Regions from separate parts of the Homo sapiens genome. Here region 2 is linked to region 1. The links are contacts of gene promoters, found by promoter capture Hi-C in human tissues and cell types (Jung and others, 2019). All regions are on one chromosome and are shown on one strand. Each heading gives the region's core, a stretch centred on a gene start or on the middle of the fragment in contact. The rest is flanking DNA. Distances are from core to core; before and after follow the strand shown. Region 1 holds the start of PPP3CC (protein phosphatase 3 catalytic subunit gamma). Region 2 overlaps SLC39A14 (solute carrier family 39 member 14).

The links. The method cuts DNA at HindIII sites, captures the fragments that hold promoters and counts their contacts. A contact is called where the count stands out against the background at its distance.
Region 2: a fragment that was not itself captured here is called in contact with the fragment with the promoter of PPP3CC in region 1 in 1 of the 25 tissues and cell types used here (bladder).

The regions. Positions count from the first base shown.
Region 1 is chr8:22,437,280-22,442,595 of GRCh38, forward strand. It overlaps PPP3CC (protein phosphatase 3 catalytic subunit gamma), which reads left to right and starts at 3,799. Exons shown (of 14, transcript NM_005605.5): 1 at 3,799-4,179. The coding sequence starts at 4,131. RefSeq lists silencers at 3,382-3,571, 3,662-4,321. The HindIII fragment of the contact is 20,414 bases long and covers 1-5,316 here.
Region 2 is chr8:22,406,380-22,412,608 of GRCh38, forward strand. SLC39A14 (solute carrier family 39 member 14) reads left to right here. Exons shown (of 9, transcript NM_001128431.4): 3 at 1,931-2,117; 4 at 5,658-5,827. Among named protein-coding and RNA genes, the nearest start is that of PPP3CC, 32 kb to the right of the region's middle. The HindIII fragment of the contact is 6,539 bases long and covers 1-4,566 here.

The DNA of each region.
Region 1 (5,316 bases), core at 2,549-5,048:
TTAGTCTGACCTGGAGGCCCTGATAGCCATTGCCCCTAGGACTGGGGGAGGGATGGTCATAACTCCTTAGGGGAAGGGGCGCCCATTCAACCTAAGGCAATTCTCTGGAGAAGGGGCAGCAATGAACTGTCAGCCACCAGCCCTCAAGAAACAGGCAGAGTACGGTAGCTCATGCCTATAATCCCAGTACTTTGAGAGGCCGATGCAGGAGGATCACTTGAGCCCAGCAGTTCAAGGCTTCAGTGAGCTATGATGGCACCACTTCACTCCAGCCTGGGCAACAGAGCAAGACCTCATCTCTCTCTTAGAACAAAAACAAAAACAAAAACAAAAACAGCAGCAACCAGAAGATGGTTATCCCTCATGGTGAAGGGGATCTGGGCAGGGCATCCCCGCCTCTGCTACAGGGAGGGCCTATTAATATTATCATCCCCATATTACAAAAGAGGAAAGCAAGGCCTGAGAAGTGAAGGAACTTACCCATGCCCACAGCTGGAAGTGATGGTATCAAGGTCTGTTGGGTGTCACTGGCTGTTGCTGGAAGACTAAGCAGCTATTGAAACAGAGGACCAGCAAGGAACTTGGAGAAAGGCAGAGCTACTGAGTGAATCTCCTTAGAAAGGGGTGGGGAAGGCCGAGGCGGGCAGATCACGAGGTCAGGAAATCGAGACCACCCTGGCCAACATGGTGAAACCCCATCTCTACTAAAAATACTAAAAATACAAAAAAATTAGCTGGGTGTGGTGGCATGCGACTGTAGTCCCAGCTACTTGGGAGGCTGAGGAAGGAGAATCACTTGAACCCAGGAGGTGGAGTTTGCAGTGAGCTGAGATCACGCCACTGCTCTCCAGCCTGGTGACAGAGCGAGACTCCGTCTCAAAAAAAAAAAAAAAAAAAAGTGGGGGTGGGGACACGAAGGGACAGGGCTGCAAGTTGCTCACAATTACTTTGCTAAAGCCAAGCTACAGAATGACATCTGGATTCTGTAAATTCATGTATACCATGCTTGAGGACTCATGCCGCATATTCCACGTGGTGCTATAGAAAAAGTTCGTGGTGCTATAGAAAAAGTTCAGGTACTGCACGTCTCTTGACGATGATGGTGTTCACTAAGCCTCCTACCAGCTCTGTGACTTTGGGCAAGTTTCTTCACATCTCTGTGCCTCAGTTTCCTTATCTGTAAAATGGGGATAATCATATAAATGGGGTTGGTGTGAGGATTGAACGAGTTAGTATTTGTGGGGTTTTTTGGTTTTGTGTTTGAGATAGATGGAGTCTGTCTCTGTGCCCAGGCTGGAATGCGGTGGCACCATCTTGGCTCTCTGCAACCTCCGCCTCCCGGGTTCGAGCGATTCTCCTGCCTCAGCGTCCCGAGTAGCTGGGACTACAGGCGTCCACCACCACGCCCAGCTAATTTTTGTATTTTTAGCAGAGATGAGTTTTTGCCACGTTGGCCAGGCTGGTCTCAAACTCGTGACCTCAGGTGATTCGCCCACCTCAGCCTTCCAAAGTGCTGGGATTACAGGCATTAGCCACTGTGCCCGGCCTGCAACGTTTTCTTTTTCTTTTTTTCTTTTTGGAGACAGTCTCGCTCTGTCACCCAGGCTGGAGTGCCGGGGCGTAATCTTGGCTCACTGGAACCTCCGCCTCCCGGATTCAAGCGATTCTCCTCCCTCAGCCTCTCGAGTAGCTGGGATTACAGGCATGTGCCACCACGCTAGGCTAATTTTTGTATTTTTAGTAGAGACGGGGTTTCACCACGTTGGCCAGGCTGTTTTCAAACCCCTGACTTCAGGTGATCCGCCTGCCTTGGCCTCCCAAAGTGCTGGGATTACAGGCGTGAGCCACCTTGCCCGGCCCGCAATGTTTTTTCTTTCTTTCCTTCTTTCTTTCTTTATTTTATTTTTTTTTTGAGACGGAGTCTCGCTCTATTGCCCAGGCTGGAGTGGTGCAGTGGCGCGATCTCGGCTCACTGCAAGCTCCGCCTCCCGGGTTCACGCCATTCTCCTGCCTTAGTCTTCCAAGTAGCTAGGACTACAGGCGCCTGCCACCACGCCCGGCTAATTTTTTGTATTTTTAGTAGAGACGGGGTTGCACCGTGTTAGCCAGGATGGCCTCGATCTCCTGACCTCGTGATCCACCCACCTCGGCCTCCCAAAGTGCTGGGATTACAGGCGTGAGCCACCCCACCCGGTCTTTTTTTTTTTCTTTTTTGCCGGCCCGCAATGTTTTCTTAAACTTTTTATTTTTAGCTATCCTGTTGAGGTTCTTCCAGATGAATTTTAGCCTCTGACCCAGGGGTATGATTTGATAGGCGTGGAGTTCTGGTTACTTCTTAAATGAAGAGTTTCCCCAGGATATCTGAACAATTCTCTTGGGTGGAAGACTCAAGGATCATGAAAACGAAAACCAAATTCTAGTCGGCTCCTAAAGTCCTTTTGCCTCCTGCGGTTACCATCAAAGAGCTATGGTCAAAATTCCAAGGGATAATTCAGGGTCTGATTCCACTATATATCCCCAGACCGCCTATACATAAATCCATATTATTGGAGATTTACGCTTAATCCTATAATCTTTTACCTAACAGCTGTCCAGTAGAATTTTCTGGATGTCCAATAAGGTAGCCGCGTGTAGCTCTTGAACACTTGAAATGTGGCTAGTCCCCTAGAGGAACGGGATTAATTTAAATTTACATAGCTACAACTACTTATCGGTCACTGCGGTAATTGTTAAGACTGGTTTTGCCTGTAACTTGCATATGTTTTATTGGACATCAGTTTCAATATTTCATTTGCATTGCTAAAAGTCAAAATCCTTTTGACTTTGCCAGTTACTCAGTGAGAGGACAGTTGGAGCCAGTTTCTGTTCTAGGCTTACAGTTTTAAGGACAGATAAAGGTTAGTTTTTAACCTCGAGATGAACAGACTGTTAAGTTTCTACGGACTTGCCCATGGGGTTCCACAGTGAGCCTGGGCCGGGGAGGCAGGTACTGTGTCAGGGGGAAGAAAAAAGGGGCTTCTAGCTGGGCAGGTGACACACAGGGCATAGGAAGAGGTCAGTTCTTGTGGCCGAGGAGGTCCGGCCCGGGGGTCCCAGGAGCAGAGATCTCCCTTCTCTTCGATGTGGAAAGTGAGGAGGGAGCAGAGCCTTGCTCAGAAACGGAGCTCCCCCAATCCCCCACCGCCCTAGCTACTGGACTGGAACTAGGATGGACACGAATGTCCTTCTCATTGTACTAACTGCACTCAACAAGCGGGAAAGATGAAGCGAGGGGGTTTAAATGTGTGCGTTTGTTGAATGACCCACAAAAACTGAAGGAGCGCGGCCGGACTGATCACACTCCTTGAGACAAAGCGGGTGGGAGACCCAGAGGTGAGGAGGGTGGTCGCCTGTGGGCGAGGACTGGGAGGCCAGGGGTTCTCGGCGAGGCGGTCCCAGGAGGCGGCGCGGAGCCGCTGCGAGGCCGCAGGGCCGGGTCGCAAGATGGCCGGGCCGGCCTCCCGCGCGGGTCGCGCGGGCCACGCGGGCGGGTTTCAGATGTTCCGGGCCCGGGTAGGGGCTGGCAGGAGAGAAGGGGCCGGCTGCGGGGAGGGCTGGCTGAGAAGAAGCGAAAATGGGCGGTTAGCAGCAGGGACCCGGAGCCGGAGGAGCCGAGAGCAGCGCGTGCGCCGAGCTCTACTGCCTCGCGGGAAGGCGGAAGGGTGGGGAGGGCGGCGCTCGGGGCGGGAGGCCCGGCCGGGTCCGCTAGGACAGCGGGGCCGCTGGGAAGTTGTGAGAGCGGCGCTCGGGGGCGCGCTTGCGTGCACGAGGGCCCGGGCCGCGAGCAGCCGCGGCCGTCCCGGTCGCCACCCTTAGCAGCGGTCGCGGTCGGTGCCGAAGCGGTGTTCCCCGCCTTAGCCGCTGGCGCCTCCCAAGAGAGCGGCCGGTGGGCCCTCGTCCTGTCAGTGGCGTCGGAGGCCGGCGCTGCGGTGGCCGCGCCCTTCTGGTGCTCGGACACCGCTGAGGAGCCGGGGCCGGGCACGGCTGGCTGACGGCTCCGGGCAGCTAAGGCTGCCCGAGGAGAAGGCGGCGGCCGCGGCGTAGGCGCACGTCCGGCGGGCTCCTGGAGCCTGGAGGAGGCCGAGGGGACCATGTCCGGGAGGCGCTTCCACCTCTCCACCACCGACCGCGTCATCAAAGGTGCCTGGCGGGCCGGGCCTTCCTCTGGGACCCGCGGGAAACGGCCTTCGGCTGGGCGGCGGCTCGGGGCGGAGGGAGGCTGGGGCCGGGCTGCGCCCACCCTAGGAGGGCTCGGAGGGGTGTAGACAGAGCCGGGCGGCAGCCTCCGAGAGCAGCCACCCGGACCCGGCGTTTTCTGCTGCACCTGGTCAGGTGCCTGGCCGTCAGTGCCAAGTTCCCTCCCGAAGGGTTCAGGGTGCAGTGGGGACTTCTTCTCCCACCGCCCCGAAGGGCCCGGATCCCTGTCTTTTTTTCTCTTTAAGAAACGACTCGGGGGAAGCCATCGGGGGTGGTGTGAGCAGGGAGTCGACTCTTCCAAGTAAGATATTTAAGATTAGATCTTTCTTGACGTCCGCCCCCCACCCTTTTTTAGGACGTATACCATGTGCCTTTTGACCCGCTTTCTCTAGATCATTGCAAGTCACTGCTATTACTGGAATAAACTTAGTATGAACAAGTCAGATAAATCCATTATATGATGTTTAAAATAAGTTTACGGAGCTCTTGACAGGGTAATGGTATTTTATTTTCCCTTTGGTTATAAAGACTTGGAGAATGACGTTTTCTGATTCATATGTGTACCTGCGTTAGATTTCTGTTGTTGTTATAAGAACAAAATGTAAAGGGCTCTTTGCTCTCTAAATCTTGTAGAGTTTTAGGTTATAGTTGTTTCTCCCTTTAAACTAAGAAGATGGATTACACATAACCACTAATTTATGTGCTGCTTTTATTCAGCCGTAAGTCTTAGGCACAACCCTTCTCTCTGAGATTAACAATCGGTTTGAAAGCGCTATTTTGTAAGAAGGGAATAGACTTAGACCAGCTGTGTTAGTGGCCTCTGGATGCAGGGGTTAGCGTGACAGTGGGGAAAATTATTAAGATACTTTTCTTCTTTTTCATTTTGGTATTAGAAGGAGAAAGGCAACTAATACTAGTGACGGGAATACATTTTTAAAAGGTGAAACGCCTTATTGCATGTTCAGGGAGGGGGAAGAATTTTAGTGTATAACTTAGGTTTCCCCCCTCTCTCCCCAAATCAGCCTCATAAATGTTAATTATCTGTACTACATAATTATAATGGGATTTTTGAGATTTATC
Region 2 (6,229 bases), core at 47-2,546, 33 kb before region 1:
TGGAGGCCTCAAAAGTTGGGGGGGAGGAGCGGGGCCGGGCGCGGTGGCTGACGCCTGTAACCCCAGCACTTTGGGAGGCTGAGGCAGGTGGATCACGAGGTCAGGAGATCGAGACCATCCTGGCTAACACGGTGAAACTCCGTCTCTGCTAAAAATACAAAAATTATCTGGGTATGGCGGGAGATACCTGTAGTCCCAGCTACTTGGGAGGCTGAGGCAGGAGAATTGCTTGAGCCCAGGAGGCAGAGGTCGCAGTGAGCGGAGATTATGCCACTGCATTCCAGCCTGGCGACAGAGCGAGACTCCATCTCAAAAAATAAAAATTAAAAAAAGGGACGGGGGAACCACGTGGCTTGGATGCGAACACCTGAGCACATCAGATGCTGAGCCAGAGACAAGCACGCCCCCGTGCCCCCGCGGGGTAATGCAGCTGCGTGAGCCTCAGGACCCGCCAGGATAGCAGCAGCATCTCGGGGTGGCGGGAGTCCAGCCCCCAGCCTTAGAAGCGCAGGCACTTATTTTGGGAGCACACCAAGAGGGCTGACTCTCAGAGATAAGCCCATGTGAGACCGAACTCAGAAAAGGCCTGGCATGTAGGTGTAGACAGTATAATTAGAAGTGGAGCTGCAGATTTCACAGGAACGGTTCGTGAGAAGCGCTTACCTGCTGCCTCCCAAGGTGACTGTGTGTGGTGGCTGCTGGCCGGCCATGGCCCACTTCCCTGAATCTTCAGGTTTTCCTCCCCTAACCTCTGTGAACACATATGTCTTTCAGGCTGAGGGCAGTCCTATGGTTGAGGATGTGTGGGGCTGATCGGGCAGCACCACAGTTTTGGCAGAGCCCCGCCCTTAGACATTTCAGCTTCAGAGAAGTAGCTGGAACCCGCATTTTAACATAATAGCTCCCTGGGCTATTGTGATGTGCAGCCAGATTTGGTACGAAGCTTGTATCTTCAGGCACACACACAGAATGGTGTTTTCTTTCTCTTTTGTTTTGTGGGGGATGGAGTCTCGTTCTGTTGCCCAGGCTGGAGTGCAGTGGCGCGATCTCGGCTCGCTGCAACCTCCACCTCCTGGGTTCAGGTGATTCTCCTGCCTCAGCCTCCCGAGTAGCTGGGATTACAGGCGTGAGCTACCACGCCCGGCTAATTTTTGTATTTTTAGTAGAGATGGGGCTTCAACATGTTGGCCAGGCTGGTTTTGAACTCCTGACCTCAAGTGATCTGCCCATCTGAGTCTCCCAAAGTGCTGGGATTACAGGCGAGAGCCACCGCACCTGGCCCCAGAATGGTGTTTTCTAGAAACTATACCCTAGTGACAATATTTTGCTTTTTTTTTTTTTTTAAGAGACAGGGTGTTGCTCTGTCACCCAGGCTGGAGTGCAGTGGTGTGATCATAGCTCCTTCACTGTAGCCTCCAACTCCTGGGCTCTAGCAGTCCCCCTGCCTCAGCCTCCTCAGTAGTTGAGAGTACAGGTATGTGCCGCCACACCTCACTAATTTTTCAACTTTTTGTAAAGAAGGGGTCTCATGTTGCCCAGGCTGGTCTCCAATTTCTGTCCTCAAGTGATCCGCCTGCCTTGGCCTTCCAAAGTGCTGGGATTACAGTGTTAGCCACCGTGCCCTGCCACTTTGGTGACAATGATTGGAATCTTGTCATTCCCAAAGTTTCTCAGGCACTCATTTACCGACGGTTGTGCTTATGATGTGTAACTTTCCTGGCTGGCTGAGCCATAAGGATTAGTTACTAGTTTTTTAAGTTTAGGGAATACCTTGCCCTCATCCCTAGACTAGATGAATCTACAAATTCCCTGAAATTTGGACATTTCTGTCTTCTCTTTTTCCTCTGGGAAGGCTGAGTAGGTTGCTGTTTAGCAGGGCAAGGCCTGACCTTTGGGGTCTAAGCGGCTTCCTGCCCTTCCTGTGTTTCAGTGCTTTAGTTCTGGAGACCTCTTCACTGCCCACAATTTCAGCGAGCAGTCGCGGATTGGGAGCAGCGAGCTCCAGGAGTTCTGCCCCACCATCCTCCAGCAGCTGGATTCCCGGGCCTGCACCTCGGAGAACCAGGAAAACGAGGAGAATGAGCAGACGGAGGAGGGGCGGCCAAGCGCTGTTGAAGGTGAGCCAGGCCAGGAAGGCAGGAGCCCATCTCCCATCTCGCCCGCGTCTCACAAGGACCCCTGGGCTGAGCTGCTGCTGCTCCTCACTGAATGCCTCACCAGTGATGACCAGGATGAGGTTGTCGGTGTCAGGAGCGGGAGCGATGATTGGATGGATAATTTTTGTATTTTGCAAGGATGGCCTAGCACATTGTCAGACTCCTGGGCCGTAGCTGGCGAATGTTCAGAGCGTTGGACTTCTTGAGCGGCCTATGGATCCCTTTTTGGTCTGCTTTTTGTTTCATGTTGAACCACGGGGGCCCAACCCTTTGGCTTTTTTAATCTTTTTTTTTTTTTTTTCTGAGATAGGATGTCGCTCTGTCTCCGAGGCTGGAGTCCAGTGGTGCAATCATAGCTCACTGCAGCCTTGACCTTTTGGCCTGAAGTGACCCTCCTGCCTCAGCCTCCTGAGTAGCTGGGACTACAGGCGTGCACCGCCATGCCCAGCTAATTTTTAAATTTTTTGTAGAGACACGGTCTCACTATGTTACCCAGGCTGGTCTCAAACTCCTGGGCTCAAGTGATCCTCCTGCCTCGGCCTCCCAAAGTGCTGGGATCACAGGCATGAGCCACCATACCTGGCCTACTTTGGTTTTATAGTTTTTCCTTTAAGACCTCCCGGAGGCTGCACTTGGCCCCTGAATCCTTCTTCCCCTCCCTATCCCGGTATCCCTGATCCAGCCACAGTGGGCTTGCCACGAGCTGTGAGTGTACACCCTGATAGCCCTAAGCCCCATAGGGCCGGCGTGTGCTGCCTGAGTGTCGGCACCCGGAATATACTGTCTGTGTTACTGCAAGTCCCTGTTTTCTGCTGTCGTTATTTACTTGTATGGCTTTTTTTGTTTTTTTTGTTTGTTTGTTTTGAGACAGACTTTCGCTCTTGTTGCCCAGGCTGAAGTGCGGTGGTGCAATCTCGGCTCACTGCAACCTCCGCCTCCTGGGTTCAAGCGATTCTCCTGCCTCAGCCTCCTGAGTAGCTGGGATTTCAGGCACGCGCCACCACGCCCAGCTAATTTTTTGTATTTAGTAGAGATGGGGTTTCACCATGTTAGTCAGGCCGGTCTCGAACTCCTGACCTCAGGTGATCCACCTTCCTCAGCCTCCCAAAGTGCTGGGATTATAGGCTTGCGCCACCGCACCTGGCCTACTTGTATGGTTTTTAGGCTTCCATTGCTGTTTGCATCCGTCTCTCCATGGAAAAGGTGTTTCTCTTGGATAGCAATTTTGATAGTTTCCCTAGGCTTCTCCGCAGCATCTGGTGAGAGATGGACTCAGCAAATGTTTACTGATGGGTTGGTGGATCTCAGTCTGCCCCATCACACCTGAATTCAGAACAGGGCCGCCCCAGGCAGCAGGAGTGTCCCCACCCTCAGTAATAGAGGCCCTCGTCTGTTCTTGTTCCTCCACAGTGTGGGGCTTTGGTTTTCTCAGTGTCTCACTGATTAACCTGGCCTCTCTCCTGGGAGTCCTCGTCCTGCCCTGCACAGAGAAAGCGTTTTTCAGCCGTGTGCTCACTTACTTCATCGCCCTGTCCATTGGAACGCTGCTGTCTAACGCGCTATTCCAGCTCATCCCAGAGGTGCAGTAGAACAGAAACTTGCGCGTCCTCTTTCCCTGGGGCGGCACAGCTGAGCCAATCCCCTCCTCCCCTACCCTGGGCTCCAAGGCACCCAATGACTGCCACCTGAGAAATGAACCTGTCCCTCGTATCAAAGCCACAAACGACTTCTAACTCTGGATCTCAGGGCCCACCTCTCACTCCTCTGGCCTCTGCAGGTGCTGTCAGATGCAAGGTTCTTCCAATTTCCCTCCTCCTGGGGACTTGACAGTCTCCCCTCCCTTGTTAAGCCCCATACATAAGGCATCAAGGGAAAGCAGCAGCTATCGACTGCCGTCCATGCCTTTGGTGCTAAGTACTTGCTCTATTCTAAGGAGAAATCCTGGCAGTACTCAGGTCTGGGCACCAAGAGCTTATCCATCTGGAATGAGATGGAAGGAAAAGAGGTTACCAAGTGATATGTAGAATTGGCCTAAAAAGCGAGTGTTCTTTAATTTTGAGCAGGCCATCGTTTCTAGCATAGAGAGCCAAACACAGAACAAAGACTAAGACCAAACAAAATTAAAATGACAAGATAAATGGAAGGGGCACTCAGCCCTTTGTACCTTGCATCTTGACTTTTTTCTGATAGGACTGACTTCCTGGTACCTTGACTTGACTGTTTTGAAATGTTAATTTTGTTGTTTAATTGTTATCATAGAGGAGCTATAAAAATAAGGCCCAAGTTGACAGTCTGCCCACTTTTTTAGCTCAAGCAGGGATGCTGCTGTGGAGGGTGAGGATACGCAGACGTGTGGTTGACCCCATTAGGGAGTCATGGATGCTGCCCTTCACAAAGATCCCATGTCAGCTGCTTCTCAGGCTTTCCCAGTCAAAAGACTCACCCAGAAAAGACAGCAGATGGGATGCCATGCCTTGCCTGTTCTTCCTGGTTGAATGTGAACCATCTTGGTGCCATCTCAAAATTCTGCATGGCTCTGACAAACACTTTGCAGGGGAGGCCTCAACTTGGGCTATTTTTTCAGCTCCAGCAATGGAATATATTAATTTTTTAAAGATTTGAAATGAAAGGCCTTGTGACCTCCTGGAATGGAAATACTGTAATTGTGTGTGCTCCACCCCTGTGGCCTGCCAGGGAGTGTCTCATCCTGGTCTGGTTCTGTCTTGCCCTCTTTTGGGCCTGGACAGAGTGTCACAACTGGGAAATGTTCAAGGAAATATTTTTGTGACAGGGTGTTCCTGGAACTCTGTTCTTTGTGCTTGAGCCCCTCTCAGAGCACATGGAAATGAGCAAAGAAGTTGAGAGGTTAAGACACTGAATTTTATGGGCATTGGGCATGAATTAATCGTTCTCCATCCCTTCTGCCCTGCACATCTGGCTTGGTTGTGTCTTGCACAAAGCAAACCAAGTGGTCGTGGTGTCACCCGAGCCTGCGCCGTGTGAATTGGACATGCAAAAGCAAACGCAGCAGCAGAGTGATCAGCCTCTTTCCACCTGCTTGCATGTCCTATAAAGAGAGCCCTCGAGTCCAAAGTCTGTCCTGGACAGCCTCTGTGATAGGTCTGGGCAGACCTTGGGTGTGTGACGAGGCAGCACCCTGCCCTGCCAGTCACACCACTGGCAGGAACGATTTGGGGCCACCAGTGGCCACAGGGGCAGAAGTCACAGGGTTCCAAGGCCACCTTGAATTCCTCTTTCTTCTGAACTGATTGAAGGAAATTTCATCAGATGTGAATCACTAACAAATTTTCTATTTCTCTCTCCCTCCCTACTTGTCTCTCTCTGATTTTTCTTTTTTGTTCCGTTAATATCCACCAAACTTTTCCTTGCGACCTCCCTATCTGCTCCACCTTCCTCCCGCTAAATGGTGGTTGCTGTGCAATGGGGCATGTGCCTTCTCTCCCTGCCCTGGGTGGGGCTGGCCCTCCCTCCGCACGGCAGTGTGGGGATACGGTCTCCTCTGTGTGACCGTCATCTCCCTCTGCTCCCTCCTGGGGGCCAGCGTGGTGCCCTTCATGAAGAAGACCTTTTACAAGAGGCTGCTGCTCTACTTCATAGCTCTGGCGATTGGAACCCTCTACTCCAACGCCCTCTTCCAGCTCATCCCGGAGGTATGGCAAGCCAGGGCCTTCACCCCGGAGCATGCCGGCGGGCACAGTGGGAGGACCTCCGTTTGGATAGAAGGCATAGAGAGGGCACCTGGAGGCCCTTTCCTTTTGGAAAGCGAAGCTAGAACTTAGGCGTGAACTAGGAGAGGCAGCCCAGCATAGGCTGAAGAGCTGGGTTCAAATCTCAGCTCTGCTATCAGTAGGTTCCGTAACCCCAGGCACACCACTGACCTCACACTGCCTCTGTTTCTTCAGATGTGAAATGGGGAGAGCAATAGACCGGCCTCAGGATGATGTTGTGAGGGTGGAACGAGCGAGTCTGCTGCAGCACTGAGTGCCTGGTGCGGAAAGTGCTGTCTGATGTGGGGTGAAAAGATGCAGTGTAGCGAGCTCACTCTGGCTTAG